Linked DNA regions of Homo sapiens: regions 1, 2, 3, 4 and 6 are each linked to region 5. The links are contacts of gene promoters, found by promoter capture Hi-C in blood cells and fetal thymus (Javierre and others, 2016). All regions are on one chromosome and are shown on one strand. The core of a region is centred on a gene start or on the middle of the fragment in contact, and the rest is flanking DNA. Distances in the headings are between cores, read along the strand shown.

Evidence for each region. The method cuts DNA at HindIII sites, captures the fragments that hold promoters and counts their contacts. A CHiCAGO score of 5 or more calls a contact.
Region 1: a contact is called between a fragment that was not itself captured here and the fragment with the promoter of TMEM94 in region 5, in 4 of 17 cell types (megakaryocytes, endothelial precursors, M1 macrophages and 1 more). The highest score is 6.3, in megakaryocytes.
Region 2: a contact is called between a fragment that was not itself captured here and the fragment with the promoter of TMEM94 in region 5, in 2 of 17 cell types (M1 macrophages and endothelial precursors). The highest score is 6.1, in M1 macrophages.
Region 3: a fragment that was not itself captured here is called in contact with the fragment with the promoter of TMEM94 in region 5 in 1 of 17 cell types (endothelial precursors); the score reaches 5.1 in endothelial precursors.
Region 4: a contact is called between a fragment that was not itself captured here and the fragment with the promoter of TMEM94 in region 5, in 1 of 17 cell types (endothelial precursors). The highest score is 5.9, in endothelial precursors.
Region 6: a contact is called between the fragment with the promoter of SMIM5 here and the fragment with the promoter of TMEM94 in region 5, in 2 of 17 cell types (erythroblasts and endothelial precursors). The highest score is 8.4, in erythroblasts.

What each region holds. Positions count from the first base shown.
Region 1 is chr17:75,591,968-75,594,670 of GRCh38, forward strand. MYO15B (myosin XVB) reads left to right here. Exons shown (of 64, transcript NM_001395058.1): 6 at 10-113; 7 at 271-334; 8 at 461-574; 9 at 712-873; 10 at 2,508-2,621. Among named protein-coding and RNA genes, the nearest start is that of MYO15B, 5.5 kb to the left of the region's middle. The HindIII fragment of the contact is 5,609 bases long and covers 1-2,703 here.
Region 2 is chr17:75,650,469-75,653,168 of GRCh38, forward strand. It overlaps RECQL5 (RecQ like helicase 5), which reads right to left. Exons shown (of 20, transcript NM_004259.7): 8 at 718-797. LOC107985013 (a long non-coding RNA gene) reads left to right here and starts at 168. Exons shown (of 3, transcript XR_001753017.1): 1 at 168-303. The HindIII fragment of the contact is 186 bases long and covers 1,278-1,463 here.
Region 3 is chr17:75,208,970-75,211,669 of GRCh38, forward strand. NUP85 (nucleoporin 85) reads left to right here. Exons shown (of 19, transcript NM_024844.5): 3 at 854-1,016. Among named protein-coding and RNA genes, the nearest start is that of NUP85, 4.6 kb to the left of the region's middle. The HindIII fragment of the contact is 426 bases long and covers 1,229-1,654 here.
Region 4 is chr17:75,678,618-75,681,436 of GRCh38, forward strand. All of the region lies in intron 3 of SAP30BP (SAP30 binding protein), which reads left to right. Among named protein-coding and RNA genes, the nearest start is that of SAP30BP-AS1, 4.8 kb to the right of the region's middle. The HindIII fragment of the contact is 787 bases long and covers 1,083-1,869 here.
Region 5 is chr17:75,455,209-75,457,908 of GRCh38, forward strand. TMEM94 (transmembrane protein 94) reads left to right here and starts at 1,427. Exons shown (of 32, transcript NM_014738.6): 1 at 1,427-1,543. RefSeq lists an enhancer at 1,124-1,173 and a silencer at 1,324-1,483. The HindIII fragment of the contact is 5,875 bases long and covers 1-2,700 here.
Region 6 is chr17:75,631,890-75,634,789 of GRCh38, forward strand. It overlaps SMIM5 (small integral membrane protein 5), which reads left to right and starts at 1,545. Exons shown (of 3, transcript NM_001162995.3): 1 at 1,545-2,313. All of the region lies in intron 8 of RECQL5 (RecQ like helicase 5), which reads right to left. RefSeq lists enhancers at 617-1,297, 1,298-1,977. The HindIII fragment of the contact is 11,256 bases long and covers 1-2,900 here.

The DNA.
Region 1 (2,703 bases), core at 25-2,524, 140 kb after region 5:
CCTGTACAGGTGGAGGATATGCTGCCTATACTCAGCAGCTTTGGCCATGCCAAGACCATCCTCAATGCCAATGCCAGCCGCTTCGGCCAGGTCTTCTGCCTCTACCTACAGCAGTGAGTGGCAGGGTTGCAGGGGGCACCTACAATCACTTACCCTTCCTGGGTCCTTGGGCTGCTTCCCTGGGGTCCAGACCCTGGTAGGGCTTCTTCTGCACGGGGCCCCTGGGTGTTCTGCATCCTGGGCACTCACACCCATCTTCTGTGCCCACAGAGGGGTCATCGTGGGAGCCTCTGTGTCTCATTATCTACTTGAGACCTCCAGGGTGGTGTTTCAGGTAAAGGCAGCCCTTCTATCCACCCCTGCCCAGTTCCCAGAGTAGGAAGGGCAGAGGGTGTCACTGTCGGGGTGTGGCCTCTAAGCCCCTAGGGCACTGAGCCCCTAAGCCAGTCCTGTCCCCAAGGCCCAGGCTGAGCGGAGCTTCCATGTTTTTTACAAGCTGCTGGCAGGGCTGGACTCCATAGAGCGGGAGCGGCTCTCCCTGCAGGGACCGGAGACTTACTACTACCTCAACCAGGTCGGGGGAGCCCTTGTGGTGCGGCGGGGAGGCCTGCCCAGAGGAGGATCTCGGCCCGGAGGTCTGAGGAGTAGCCGGAGTAGAGGGAGGCTATGGGGTGGCAGGCCCCGCTCCCTCACCCCTGCTGTGCTCTGCAGGGCCAGGCCTGCAGGCTGCAAGGCAAGGAGGATGCCCAGGACTTTGAGGGGCTGCTGAAGGCACTGCAGGGGCTCGGCTTGTGCCCAGAGGAGTTGAATGCCGTCTGGGCTGTGCTGGCCGCCATCCTGCAGCTGGGCAACATCTGCTTCTCCTCCTCAGAGGTGGGCTTCCCCGTGGGCAGGGGCCATCTGGGGTGCTGGGTCTGTAGAATCAGGGCAGTGGTAATGACGCCAAATGCTGGTGTGTAGGAGACTACAGAGTGCTGGGCTGCCCTGAAAAGTGGGTAGATCCCCACTGTGTAGATGAGAAAGCTGAGACATAGAGCTTCTCCACTCTCCCAATGTCTGTGCCTCTAAGCTGCCACCCCTAAGAACATCTGGCATTAGATGAGCAGCTATGGTCAGGCATGGTGGGTCACACCTGTGATCCCAGCACTTTGGGAGGCCGAGGCAGGAGGATCGTGTGAAGCCAGGAGTTTGAGACCAGCCTAGGCAACATAGAGAAACCCCGTCTCTATTAAAAAAAAAAAAAAAAAAAAAAAGGGTTGGCGGTGGTGGCTCACACCTGTAATCCTAGCACTTTGGGAGGCCGAGGTGGGTGGATCACTTGAGCCCAGGAATTCTAGAGCAGCCTGGGCAACATGGCAAAATCTTGTCTCTACAAAAAATATGAACAGATTAGGCCAAGGCGAGCAGATCACTTGAAGTCAGGAGTTTGAGACCAGCCTGGCCAACATGCTGAAACCCTGTCTCTACTAAAAATACAAAAATTAGCTGGGTGTGGTGACACGTGCCTGGATGTGGTGGCACATCCCAGCTACTTAGAGAAGCTGAGGCAGGAGAATTGCTTGAACCCGGGAGGTGGAGGTGGCAGTGACCTGAGGTTGCGCCACTGTACTCCATCCAGCCTAGGTGACAGAGCGAGACTCCGTCTCAGAAAAAAAAAAAAAAACAAAACAGACTGGGCGTGGTGGCTCATGCCTGTAATCCCAGCACACTGGGAGGCCTAGATGGGCGGATCACCTGAGGTCAGGAGTTCGAGACCAGCCTGACCAATATGGTGAAACCCCGTCTCTACTAAAAATACAAAATTAGCCAGGTGTGGTGGCACATGCCTATAATCCCAGCTACTTAGGAGGCTGAGACAGGAGAATTGCTTGAACCTGGGAGGTGGAGGTTGCAGTGAGCCAAGACTATGCCATTGCACTCCAGCCTGAGCAACAAGAGCGAGACTCAGTCTCAGAAGAAAAAAAAAAAAAAGATTAGCTGGGCATGGTGGCATGTGCCTGTAATCCCAGCTACTGGGGAGGCTGAGGTGGAAGAATTACCTGATCCTGGGAGGTGGAGGCTGCAGTGAGCCTTGATCGTGCCACTGCATTCAGGCCTGGGTAACAGAGTGAGACCCTGTCTCAAAAAAAAAAAAAAAGAAAAAAAAAAATCAAACGAGCAGCTGTTATGTACCTGGGTACTGTGTAAATCACTTTGCATTTGTTTTCTAATTTAGTTTGCAAGACAACCCCCTAGGAAGGGTTACTGCTTCCCCTTTAGCAGTGAGGCCGTGGGGCGCAGGAAGGAAGGAGCCTGGCCAGAACTGTCCGCCAGCAAAGAGGGAAAGTAGGACTCGAACTCAGGGCCCTGAAAACCATAGCCTCGCTCCTAATGGCCCAGATCTCCTCATGTGACATATCTCCCCTTTGGTGACAGGGCCACTTACCAGGCAAAGCCCGGCCTGCCCTGCCTGGGGAGTGTGTCCATTCCTGAAGCAGAGATCTCCCTGTCCCTCCCTCTCTGTGTAGCGAGAGTCCCAGGAGGTGGCTGCTGTGTCTAGCTGGGCTGAGATCCACACAGCAGCCCGACTGCTGCGGGTACCACCAGAGTGCCTGGAGGGGGCTGTCACCAGGAGGGTCACGGTGAGCCCGAGGGTCCTGGGGAGAGGGGCCTGGCCTGGCTGACCCACAGGCTGAGTAAGCACCATGAGGGCTGCAGGCCTGA
Region 2 (2,700 bases), core at 121-2,620, 200 kb after region 5:
TACCATGAGCTTCGTGACTGTGACCTCTCTGGACCTCAATTTATTCACCTCTAAGTCTGAAGCAATCACGTCAGCGTCATCCGACAGGATCATTCCATGAGATGAGATGAATCCAAGAGCTTTTTAGACCAAAATGTAAAAACTCCTCCTGGGTGTCTCTCCTGCAGGCACTCACAGCTCCGCATGCCTGGACACAACCTGACTACACCAAGCAGCCCTCAGACTCTTTCCGTGGCCCCTGCCCCATCGCCTGCAGATGCAGGTAAAACAGATGCGTGAGTTCAAAGCACATGACTCCCCGAGGTAAGTGGGGCCACAGGCTTCTGTGTGGGTCCTGGATAAGGGTGAGGACTACTCAAGTGATGCCAGAAGTCCCAGCTCGGTGGCACATGATGACCACAAAGCCGATGGCTCAGAGCTGGTCACATCCCTTGGAACTGAGTGGCTTGTGGGGCCAGCCATCCCAGAAGAGGGTGGAGTGGAGGGAAGGACACCACTCAGAATACTGAGCAAATCCCCACACTGCGAGAGATCCCGGGGCCTCCAATAGAGAAGAGCAAGGTCCTGACTTCCACACTGCCCGACACAACAGCCTTTGCAGGCAGGTGTCCCTTGGTAGCCTACGGGCTGTCTTATGTCAGCTGCTTAACTAGGGCGTGCCGGGGAAGTAAATGATCTCACTGACACTTTGCTCCACATATAAAATAAGTCACTTACCCCAGTTCTTCACAGAAGGTCACCAGGGCATCAAAGGCCATGATAGTGGCTTTATCAGATGCTTTGTTTCCTCTCTTTTCCTGGGGACAAAAAATGACCACTTAGCAAGTCTTATAGAATTGGACTACCTTAGAGCCACAAAAAGTAATGAGGAGGCCGAGTGCGGTGGCTCACGGCTGTAATCCCAGCACTTTGGGAGGCTGAGCCAGGAGGATCATTTGAGGTCAGGAGTTCGAGACCAGCCTGACCTACATGGTGAAACCCTGTCTCTACTAAAAATACAAAAAAATTAGCCAGGTGTGGCAGCGCATGCCTGTAGTCCCAGCTACTTGGGAGACTGAGGCAGAAGAATCACTTGAACCCAGGAGGTGGAGGTTTCAGCAAGCTGAGATCATGCCACTGCACTCCGTCTCAAAAACAAAAAAAAGTAACAAGGGAGAAAAATATTAAATGACAGTAATAAAGCCATTTACAAAAGTGTCCCCAAACCTGACTATGTATCATAACCCCCAGACTACTGAACTGAATTTTCTGGGATGAGCTTTTGAGAGTTTCCGAAAAGCTTCTCAGGAGGTTCTCATGCAAAGGGCCCACAGACTGGCATTTAGGAAGCGCTATATAATATCACCTATTTTAATAATAGTAAATACACGCACAAATGTTGTGAACTTAACAAATATGAACACATATACTTCTGTGTATATTGGAGGGAGATATATTAAAAGGTTAAGTGACTCTTCTTGATAAGCTTAAAACATGAATTTAAAATACAATTTAAAACCTGTAATCCCAGCACTTTGGGAGACTGAGGTGGGCGGATCACCTGGGGTCAAGAGTTCGAGACCGGCCTTGCCAACATGTTGAAACTCCATCTCTACTAAAAATACAAAAATTAGCCAGGCATGGTGGTGCATGTCTGTGATCCCAGGTACTCAGGAGGCTGAGGCAGGAGAATCACTTGAACCCGGGAGGCAGAGGCTGCAGTGAGCTGAGATCGTGGCACTGCACTCCAGCCTGGGCAACAGAGCAAGACTCCATCTCAAATAAAATAATAAAATAAAATAAAATAATGCTTGACCTGCCGACTCAGAAACCCATGTGGGGTGGGGGTGGGCAGCTGCCAGCTACACCAGGAGAGCAAGATTCCCAAGCCCTTCAGTTGGCACCCAAGGGGCCAGTGTGCACCACTTGGATCACACAACCAGAAAACAGGAGGACCCCAAAGGTTTCCTGAGTCTCTACTTACCAGGGAGGCTGTGTGCGGCCCTGCCAGCTCATGCCTGAGCACAGCATCCCAGATGGGGCAGAGCAGGGTACGGCTGGGCAGGGGAGGTGGGCTCTGGAAGGTGCTAATGGTAGCAGACAGGGTGTTGCCTCCTGCCTGCAGGTAGGGAGCACCCTGAATGAGCGGGCTGAGCTGGGCTGGTCACCAGGCCTGGACCCACAGCTCCTTTGGCTATGGACTAATATCAGAGGAGTGGCTTATGGGAAGTGGATAGCAGGAAGCGCTGAGGCCTGGCTCCTGAGCGCAGGGTAAAGCTGGGGGAAGGAGATGGTACTGTGAAGGCAGATAAAGGGGCAAGAGCCTCAGGTTTCTGTCCCCCACCCCACTTCCCTGGGGCTTTCCAAACCAAAGCCTGCAACTAACTTAAAAGGAAGAAAAAGCACTTAAGTTACCAACAACTACCAAACTCCCCCAAAGCCCCTCTCACAAAATCCAAACTGTTTTCTCATCTCCACTCCTGCCTCCCCCACACAATATAGTTTCCTGTTTTCTTTTTAAAATGTTGCCTGCCACCTCTCCACCTGGGAAACCCAAGGCATGACTGCCGGTTGCTGGTGACAGGCACACAGCAGGCAGAGCCCCATCTTTGGTGGTGGGGCGGAGGGAGGTGGGGGCACCAGTCCCTGCCACATCCTCAATCCGCAGACACTCATCAGCCAGCCTTCCCTTTGGCTCCCACTAGAGGGGAGTAGGGCAAT
Region 3 (2,700 bases), core at 192-2,691, 250 kb before region 5:
CTGGCCTCAAGCGATCCTGTTGCATTTTGGCATTTTTATTTTTGAAATGTTAGCTATTTTAGATTTTCATTGATTTTTGAGATCTTGAAGATGTTGAATCCCGGAAAAAAATTAATAGTTTTCATGAAAAATTTTCTTCATATTTAAAATGTCAAGCTTTTTATCCCTTTTTCTTTGTCCAAAGTGACCAAATTCCTATCAGTAGCTCCCTTATTGTGAACCTTGCAGATGCTTGGCCGTCACTTTTGTGTCCACAGCATGGATTCAGCTGAATAATAGTTCTGTAGGCTGAGCTGAGCCGTAGCATCCAAGGCACAGATGGAGCTGGAGAGTGACATAGCTTGTCCTTGGCTTGATTTTCCTGAGTTCCATCAGCTATTGGATAGGATGTGAATCTTTTTCTTTTCCTGATACAGTGATACAGTCTCCTTCCAGTAGAAGGATAAAACTGGAATCTTGACATTTGATTTGCTTTCTTTTTTTTTTTTTTTTTTTGAGACGGAGTCTCGCTCTGTCCAGGCTGGAATGCAGTGGTGTGATCTCGGCTCACTGCCACCTCCGCCTCCCGGTTTGAAGCAATTCTCCTGCCTCAGTCTCCTGAGTAGCTGGGAATGAAGGCATGTGCCACCACGCCCAGCTAATTTTTGTATTTTTAGTAGAGACAGGGTTTTGCTATGTTGGCCAGCCTGGTCTCGAATTCCTGACCTCGTGATCTGCCTGCCTTGGCCTCCCAAAGTGCTGGGATTATAGGCAAGAGCCACCATGCCCGGCCACAGAAAATTTTTTTAGAGTAGATTCACTTTTGGAGATGATCATAATAGATGTTAAATTTTTTTTTTCTGTTTGGTTTCAGAAAAATCAGAGATGGTGCCAAGTTGCCCCTTTATCTATATCATCCGTAAGGATGTAGATGTTTACTCTCAAATCTTGAGAAAACTCTTCAATGAATCCCATGGAATCTTTCTGGGCCTCCAGAGAATTGACGAAGAGTTGACTGGAAAATCCAGAAAATCTCAGTAAGTTGGTTGCTGTTTGGTGTTGAAGCCCACACTACACTGTGGAAAGCCAAATGAAGTACATTGTTGTCTTTTTGTGTGTTTTATGGGTTGCGTAAAGAAATAAGAGACTCCTGGTTCTAGTTGAGGCATGAGTACTGGACAGTGTACATTAGCAGTGATGGGAAGACTTAGCGGGAATATGCAAATGCTATTGATGGGCTGGCTTGACAAGCTTTATTTATATTCATATTTTACTTAGCCTCTAAAGAAGAAAATTTAGGCCACACAAGCATGTGAGAGTCGTTGAATGAGGTCACATTGTTGGGAGATTTGAAAATTAATATAAACCTAACAGTTTTGTCTCTAAAAAATTATGGTTCAGACGTTATTTGACAACAGACCAGAAAACTCTCGTACTATTTATAGATTAGGATTTTCTTGAATTGTAGTTCATAACTTCATCATTATCAGAGTGGTACTTGTTAATTGTAGACTTTTGGGACCCACCTCAGATCATCAAAATCAAAATCTCCGTGGTTGGATCTTAAAATCTCCAGCACACTGAAGTTTAAGAACTCCTGTGTTAGATTTTTGTCAGCGTCCCTTCACATGGATGGCTAGGGAATGGGCAGTGTTGGTATGTTACTTCTTTGATAAGCTTTTCACAAATGAATCATTCTGGACAAGACTCAGGTCAGCTTCTGTGTGAGTGTGTGCAAGAGTGATTATTGGTTGTTTTTCTGTTTTTTTTCGAGGCAGAGTTTCGCTCTGTCACCCAGGCTGGAGTGCAGTGACGCGTTCTCCGCTCACTGTAAGCTCTGCCTCCTGGATTCACGCCATTCTCCTGCCTCAGCCTCCCGAGTAGCTGGGACTACAGGCGCCTGCCACCACATCCGGCTAATTTTTTGTATTTTTAGTAGAGACGGGGTTTCACCGTGTTAGCCAGGATGGTCTCGATCTCGTGACCTCGTGATCCACCTGCTTCGGCCTCCCAAAGTGCTGGGATTACAGACGTGAGCCACTGTGCCTGGCCCTGTTTTTTTTTTTTTTTTTGAGACAGAGTTTCACTCTGTCACCCAGGCTGGAGTGCAGTGGCGCAATCTTGGCCCACTGCAGCCTCTGCCTCCTGGGTTGAAGCCATTCTCCTGCCTCAGCCTCCTGAGTAGCTGGGATTACAGGTGCGTGCCACCACGCCTGGCTAATTTTTGCATTTTTAGTAGAGATGGGGTTTCATCATTTTGGCTGGGCTGGTCTTGAACTCCTGACCTCAAGTGATCTGCCCACCTCAGCGTCCCAAAGTGCTGGGATTATAGGAGTGAGCCACTGCACCTGGCCTGATTATTGGATTTAAGGGACTCTAGTGGAGAATATTGGTGAGTTTGAGAAATCTATTGTCACTTCTAGGAAAAAAACATGTCAAAAGTCCTGTAATTCCTTGCTGGCAGGGGACCCTGTCTTATTCTTTTTTTTTTTTTTTCAGATGGAGTCTCACTCTGTCGCCCAGGCTGGAGTGCAATGGCATGATCTTGGCTCACTGCAACCTCCGCCTGCCGGGTTCAAGAGATTCTCCTGCCTCAGCCTCCTGAGTAGCTGGGATTTTTGTATTTTTAGTAGAGACAGGGTTTCACCAGGTTGGCCAGGCTGGTCTCAAACACCTGACCTCAGGTGATCTGCCCACTTTCACCTCCCAAAGTGCTGGGAT
Region 4 (2,819 bases), core at 226-2,725, 220 kb after region 5:
TCCACCTGTGCACACTTCCCAGGCTGGTCATACCATGTTGTCGGCCGGTTTTGGAAGAGCAGATTCCATGTTTTAAACTGGAGTGCTCTCAGAAGAGCAGTCATAAAGGTGAGGGGACTCAAAAGCACATCACCTGAGGGAAAGGTAGAGCTGGAAGACAGAAGACTCGGGAAGAGCCGGGGTTGCGCTCTGGTGTTTGAAGGTCTGCTGAGGGAAAGGCTAAGGCAGCCTGAGGCAGACCTGAAGCCGCGCGCAGAATTCCACAGAAGTTTACCTTCATATAACGAAGGACCTTTTGTGATCTCCGGCCACAAGTGGGTTGAGCTGTTTCATAAGGTAGTGAGCTCCCTGTTTCTAGAGGTTTTTCAGGCAAGTTTTTTTTTTTTTTTTTTTTGAGACGGAGTCTCGTTCTGTCGCCCAGGCTGGAGTGCAGTGGCTCCATCTCAGCTCACTGCAAGCTCCGCCTCCCAGGTTCACGCCATTCTCCTGCCTCAGCCTCCCGAGTAGTACCTGGGACTACAGGCGCCCGCCACCACACCTGGCTAATTTTTTGTATTTTTAGTAGAGACAGGGTTTCACCATGTTAGCCAGGATGGTCTCGATCTCCTGACCTCGTGATCTGCCTGCCTCGGCCTCCCAAAGTGCTGGGATTACAGGTGTGAACCACCATGCCCGGCCTTCAGGCAAGTTGTAAGAAACGACTTGTCATCAACATCATAAAATCTGTTGGTAGAGGTTGGATTAAACTCCAGGGAGTTCCCTGGGAACCCCCTAGGAAAGGACTTGGGCATTATACATAAGCAAAGTTGAGTATTCTCTAACTTTGTTATCTGATGACTTTAAAATATGCACAGACTGGAATTGCCCTGGTTTTTATTGCTCTGATGTTTGGGGTTACCTGTGAGCACAGAGTCCCATGTTTGGGAGCGTGAGTAAGAACTAACTCTGGCCCACCTGGGCAGAGAGACTTGGTCCTGTCCTTTAGGTTGGGGCAGCAGGGATTGGGCTCTGCAGGTGCTGAGTTTGCCCCAAACTAGCGAACAGGAGATTGGAGAAGGAGGCTGGGCGTTGCATAGGAAACAAGCTTTGTTTCCTGTGTTCCATTATTTTTTCGTCTCTAACTTCAAGTTTCTGATCTTGTCTCTTCGGTAAGCAGCAAATTAACAGGAGGTGGCACTGCTGTTCTGGAAAAAGAGCAGACGTGACAGTCCTGGGGCCAGCACCTCACTCCGGGAAAGGAGTGCCTGGTGGCTGAAGTGCTTCCTCCCCCTGTTTACCTTTGGCACCCGAACATCCCTTTCGCCACTCTCCTTTGTCCATTTTTACCTCGTTTGCTCTGGACGGTTTCCCTTGTTTATTTTTTTCTCCACTCCTACAGTTCCTGTGGATGAAGCTGTTTCCATTCACTCACTGTCCCTGACACACCCTTCCTTTGAAAACAAACATGGGGGTTGAGAGCCTGGAGCAAGAAAGATGGAGCAGCCTATTGCCAGCTGACTGGGAGGGACTGGGATCGCCGGCCTCCCTGAGGTGCTGATCTAGGAAAAGATCTAGATCTCACGCTCTGATCTAGGAAAAGAATCCTCCCAGCCCAGGAGTGTACATCTGTGAAAACAAAATTCCGTCTTCTGGGTCAAGGAGGTGGCATCAGGTGGGGGTTGGGGGGAATTGTTCTGGCATTTTTTAAAAAGGCGTGTATAACCCCAGTTAAGAGAAGACATTTTTAAAATTCTAAGATCCCTAAAGTAGTACTAAAATGTGGAGCTCACAAACAATTTAGAGCCGGTCTGGTGGACTTGTGGTCCGAAGACCTGGGTTGTGCCCTGGCCTGGCTTCCCTCTGGCTGTGGAACCACAGGCCTGTAACTTAAGCTTCACTCGGCTCCATTTGGGCAGTCAGGGCCGTGAGACCCCCTTTGCAAGGTGGTTGTGACTGCGGCGTGAGAGAATGTACATGAAGGTGCTTTTCGCAGTATACAATGCACTTGTTAGCAGTGCTTGGCCTTTTCAGTGTAACTAAGTCTGATTATACGCCCTTATCCTGTAGGTTAGAAGGCGCCACGATTTCTCGGCTCACTGCCCTTCATGTCTCCATAGTTTTTCACAGACCTCTGGAACAAAAAGAAATGCCTAATGGCTGAGTGTGGTAGCTCAAGCCTGTAATCCCAGCACTTGGGGATGCCCGAGGCAGGAGAATTGCTTGAGCACAGGAGTTTGAGACCAGCCTGGGCAACATGGTGAAACCCGTCTCTACAGAAACTACAAAAGTTAGCCAGGCATGGTAGTGTGTGCCTGTAGTCCCAGGTACTTGGGAGGCTGAGATGGGAGGATCATTTGATCCTGGGAGGCAGAGGTTGCTGTGAGCCGAGATCTGTACCACTGCACTCCAGCCTGGGCAGCAAACCAAGACCCTGTCTGAAAAAAAGAAGAAAAAATGCCTAACGAATGGTTCTGTTTCTTATGTCATTAGCTTCAGACACTAAGTATTACTGTCCTCACAATTCAGTAGCTGCTTAAAAAAATAATATGTGTAAGTGTGTGTGGTATGTGACATGTGGAGTAAGGCTGTGTTTCCTGTAACAGTTTTGTTAAATATCCTGTGGCACCTTTGTGAGTTTGCTGGGTTACCCCAGGTAGTAGTCTGGGAACTGTGGCAGTAGATTGTCTTAAGAGTTCCAGAGTGGGGGCCTTGACAAGTCCTCACTTAGCCTCCTCTGGAGGCCCAGCCGGGTGAGTGGTTCTCTGCCTCAGTGGCTATTCATACCCATCCTGAAGAAGACCAGGTCTCCCAGTTGACGGGAGTTACTGACTCACAGTCTA
Region 5 (2,700 bases), core at 177-2,676:
GGCTCACGCCTGTAATCACAGCACTTTGGCAGGCCGAGGCAGGTGGATCACCTGAGCTCAGGAGTTTGAGACCAGCCTGGCCAACATGTTCAAACCCTGTCTCTACTAAAAATACAAAAATTAGCTGGGTATGGTGGCAGGCACCTGTAATCCCAGCTACTCCGGAGGCCGTGGCAAGAGAATCACTTGAACCCGGGAGGTGAAGGTTGCAGTGAGCCGAGATCAAGCCATTGCCCTCCAGCCTAGGCGACAAGAGCGAAACTCCGTCTCAAAAAAAAAAAGAAAAAAAGAACCTTTAAAGCAAAGCGTAGGGAACCAACCATGTGACGAAGGAGCAGAGGTGGAAAGGTCTCTGTCACGTTTAAAGAATGGTGGTTAATCTATGTGGCTGCAGGAATAGTTTAGCCTGTGGGGACTTAGACCTGGAAACGTATGTCTGAGTCAATTTATGAAGGACTTTGAACATCAGGCAGAAAGATTTGGACCTATTTGCAAAGGTGAACTATCAGTTTTTGTGTGCAGGTTAGTGACATGATTCTTATGGCGTTTTAGGCAACAGCTAAACTGGGTCATACAAGATTAGGTACTAAAATGCCATCTTCTTGTCCAGCTGAGAAAGGGATTTTAATTACGTAATTAAACTCATGAATGTGGGAAGGGGCTCTTACTTCACAAGGCCAACCTCAGCTCTTTCCCAATTATATAAACAAGTTTTTGTTTGTTTTTTTGTTTTTGTTTTTTTTAAACAAGCCTTCCAGACTTAGATCTCTGGGAAAAGAGAAGTAAATACTGACACAGGCTTGCTTTGTTTTCCCAAGAGAGGTCTCCCAGGCGATTTATCTAATTACCTAGAAAAAAAATTTAACTTGTTTTTCCCTTTAGATTTCAGCCGAGCTGGAAGCGGGAGGGGGGAATTGCAGTATTGCCTTAGATTTTCTAGATTTGGTTTGGACGCAATATTCGTCCTGAGGGAGTCCCTCCAAGGCCTCTCGGAGCGGGCAGCCTCTAGGCATTTGTTCAAGGCAACAAGGAGGGAGCTTAGAAGAACTTAAGAGAGGCGGGGAGCTCTGCAAAGGGCTTATTTTAAAAAGAAAGGGAAAAAAGGTGGGGCGCGCCGTCTATCTTTTTAGAATAATTCTGTAGGAAAACGAATCGGAGGTAAAGCCATGCCCTCTGGTCAGGGTTTCTGGACTAGAAACTGCCTGAGCTTTACGCACAGGAAAGGACAGTGGCTCTTCACTCTCCCGGCCGCATCACTCGGCACCTAATTCCGCCAGGCTCCCAGAGGGGCGGTTGCAGCTACAGCCTAGCACGCCGCGTAGCCAATAAGAAGCCAGAATTCCCCCTATTCTCAAATCCTGACCAATCGGTGGCCTGAACTTTAGCTCTCTGGCCGGCGCCTCTGTTGCCCGGAAGGGAGGCAAGCCCCCTTAGAGTTGCCAGTAACGGACATGGCTGCGGCCCCCGGAGGAGGGGACGTGAAGTGAGGAGGGGGTTGGGAGGGGAGAGGACGCGGGCGAGGAAGACCAGCCCCGGGGCCCCGGTAAGTACGAGAAGGCCCGTGGCCCGAAAGTGGGGAGCAAGGGGGCGTGGGGCTCGGCCTTGCGCGTCCTTTGGATTCTTGGCCAAGGAAAGGGGAGTCTGGGGTCTGCACCCAGAGAACGGCTTAAGGGGATGCCTCCTGAGGGGGAGTCCAGGGACTGGCTCTAGTCTCCAGCTCTTGACCATTGCCTTCCCCCGAGTCTTCAGACTCTTGCTCTCAGCCCTGGATTGGTCCATTGTGGGGTCTCTCGCCAGAAATAAAGCCTCTCGCCAACAAAGAATCCCTGCCCCAGGTCTGTCGTGCCTAGGCCCTGGCCCAGAGGGCTCCCAACGCCGACGCCCTGAGTATTTATTTCGAGGCCCCTGGGAGTCCTCATCCCCGACCTAAATAAAGACCGTTGTCCCGCCTGCGCGCGCTCTCCGCAGCCGCCCGGGGTCCTCGCGCGGCCGTCCCCAGCTGGATGGAGCCGGCCGAGGGGCTCCTGGCAGCCATCCCTGATCTTGCAGTTTGGAGCGGGCTTTTTTTTCTTTCCGCCTTTCCAGAAGCGTTTTCAGGCTCCTCGGAAGCTCACCATCCATGCCATCGGATAAAGTGACTCCTGTGGAATGCCCTCGTTCCTGTACCGCACACCCCTGGAGCCCAGGTCTCCTGGTTCCTAGCATGCCACGATGCGGCCCCTGCCCGCTGCCCAGCGCCAGATGCAAGCAAAGCCCCGCTCTTTCATTGGTGTGTCACCGCGGGCTAAACTTTGGCGTTGCCTTGGTCACGTGCTGCTACATCCCACCCTCTCTCCTGAGTTTTTCGGTGGCTCTTGAGGGAAAAAAGGAGGGAGCTCGTTATGGAATCTGTTTTCCTTCTGCTATGTGGGTGTATGCATTGGAGAGAAGGATCTTTTTCTCATGATTTATCCAAGACGCTCAGCTTTAGTGACATAGTTGTTATTCCGCAGGTAATCTTGGAAGATGGAAGCAGGGAGGGGGCAGTTTTAACATTTTCATTTTGCAGATGTGGAGATTGTTCGGAGAGGCAAGGCCAGGGTCACCTAGAGCCAAACTAGAATCCGAAAGTCCAGGGGCTTGAGTTCTTTATCCGCTAGACCTAGTTGTTTCCTAGGTGTGACCTGAGGAGATCAAGTTCCCTGACTCCCCTGAGCTCTT
Region 6 (2,900 bases), core at 295-2,794, 180 kb after region 5:
ACACATGGGGGTCTCCCGGGAAGCAGGATGTGAACCCCACTCTGTCCAGTTACTCCTCTGCTCCTCCCCTCTGTCCTCTGGCAATGGGATGTAGATGCTGGCTCTGCCATGAAGGGTGTCTTTTGGGTGACACACTTCACCTCCTAAAGCCCATGCATTCCCGTCAGTAAGATGGTGCAGAAAGGCACAGCCCTCACGGACTGAGCGAAGATGGCTGAGGTGATGTCTGAAGTGCATTACAGTACAGTCATGCCCCATGGAATGACTGCACAGCCAATGGTGGTCCCCTACGATTCTAACACTGTATTTCTACTGTACTTTTTCTATGCTTATGTGTGCTTAGATATGTGAATACCACTGTGTTACAACTGCATACGGTACTCAGGACAGTAACGTGATGTACAGGTTTGTGGTCTAGGAGCAACAAGCTGTAGCGCATGGCCTGGGTGTGTAGGAGGCTGTGCCGCTTGATATTTTTTTCCTTCTCTTCCCTGGAATTGCTGTTTGATTTCCCTAAGTATACTCTGTGACCGCACAATGACAAGTTAAATTTCTCAAAACGTATTTGCATTGCTAAGGCAGGCACGGCTGTGTAGTAATATGTCCCATCATCAACCCGTGAGGGTGTCACAGGTGGGGCCTTTAGCCAGGGAGACGCAGCCTCGCCTGGAGTCCTCCTCTCGTCTTCCTCTGTCTCAACCCTGCTGCAGCCCTCCTGGGGTGAGCGGCCTCTGCCCATGCTGGGAGCAGGGAGCAGCCTCTGGCTGGCCCACGAGGCTCTGTCGCATCTCTGTTCCCTCTGCATGGGGGTGGCTGTCGACCCTTGGGGCAGCTGCAGAGGCCGCAAGAGGGGCCATAGCTCTCTCAGGCTCCTTATAAACAGCCATTCCTGCCACCAGGAACGTGGCACAGGGTAGGGAAGCCCAAGAGGAGATGCTGGAACACAGGCAGGGCTGTCTGGGGTGCCACATCCCAGGGACAAGAATAGCTGGCATTAACTGCTCTAACTAGAACTCCTCCCAGTGTGAGCACTGCTGCGGCTGCAAGAAGCCCTTTGAGGGGCTGCGACCCCAAGGCGCAGGCTCAAGGATGCAAGGCTGATTGCAACACCCCGGTAAGGAAGCAGGGCCTGGCTGACTTTCTTTTAGCTGAGTGAATGCAGCTCTGAAGCCTGACCTGGGCTGGGACAGCCGAGGCGGCCACCAGAGGGCGCTCCTGCCCCCACTCTGCTCCAATGAGTAAATGCAACAAATGGTTCATCCCCAGGAGTCCGTGCGCCCGCACAGCGGCCGCCTGTCCAGCCTCTGGGAGGCTCTGGCATCCGAGTGGTGTGACCACATGGCTGGCTTCCTCCCCCTGCCCTCCTCAGGCCCTGACTCACTGGGGTTTTGTGCTCGGACTCAAAGAGCTCCATTGACAGCGGGGCTGGGGTCGGTTTCTCTCCACACAGCCTAGCCTGCTGGGAGGCACAACCAGGCAAATGTCACAGGGCCCGGCCCCTGGACTCTGGAGCCCTGCCCTGACAGCTGGGCCAGGAGTGCGGTCACAGCCCCAGCAGAAGGCCCTCACCTCACAAGGAACATGAGGCGCCTTGCCGGGCGCGCAGGCCACTCCCAGGTCACTCAGGATTCCAAGTTCTCCCCCAAGACGCCTTCAGATGCTGAGCGGCACAAGGGCCTCCCCAGGGACTGGTTGCAAAGCCTCCTGCTCAGCTTGAGAGGGCCACCAGCTCCCCACTGTTTACTGTTGTTCCTGAGAGAGGCCAGAGGGAGGGACCAGCCAGGGAGTGGCCAGAGGGACAGAAGGGGTGGCCTTCCTGAGGGCAGGGTGGGTGCCCCAGACCTGAGAGCGCTGCAGGACTCCCCTCCACAGGCTCAGGTGGAGCCTCCCCAGGGTCCTCCTGGCCAGGAAGGCAGAGAGCCGACTTCTTTCTTCAGCTCCCAACCCAGGCCCAGCCCACGGCGTGGGAGTCGGGGAGAGGGAGAGGAGGAGGAAGGAGGAGGAGAGAGGGAGCTTGTCTTGTCCCTGAGCAGCGCTCTCAGGGCAGAGGTGAGGCACCGGGACATGAAGTTGGAGGACAAGTTCCCAAGCAGGGCTTCCTCGGGCTCCCCCTCGCGACGGTAATTTGACACTTGGATCTCCAGGACGACCAACAACAAAAAAGCCAGGCAGAGACAGCAGCTGGCTGTCAGCAGAGGAGCTGGGCTGAGGCGCCCAGGGGAGCAGCGGCGCCCACGAAGGAAGTACGAGGACAGCACGTGGAGGCTCCGCGCTGGGGCACTGCTGCTCAGCCCCCAACACCTGAGCTCCCAGGTGAGTGGCAATGGCCACAGAAGAAGGGGGGACAGGGAGGGAGCAGCAAGGGTCCCCTGCCCCCAGGGTGAAGGGCCACAGTCTACCATAAACACGGAGAGGTCTTCGGGGACATGCTGGGTCGCTTCCCTGCAGGGAAGTCAGCCAGCCTCCTGCACACACCTGCACTCTCCCTGCTGCTGGGACCCTGCACTAGGGGAGGGCTGGGGGCTCTGCTCAGAGCGCCTCCTGCTCCGCCTGCTGTGCAGCAGAGGGGCCCCGAGGGCCTGCTTATTCTGCAAGTTCATTTCAGCTCTTTTATTCAGGGGGCTTAAAAGAGGGATTTGGCTGTCCAGCTTGGGAGAGAATGGCTGCCGGCCTGCTGAGCCTCCCTTTTTCCCAGGATTAGGGCAGAGCCCTGTCGAGGTCAGCGCAGGGTCTGCCCAGCCAGCATGCGGCGCCCCCAGGATGCAGCAGGACTCTGCCCATCTGTGTCCTTTCAGGGGCTTGGCCCACTCACTGCTGGTGTTCTCAGCTCACGGCTCAGCCTGGGTCCTCCTCCCTGGGCCCATCTAGAACCCCATAAACTCCTAGATCTCCCTCTGGTG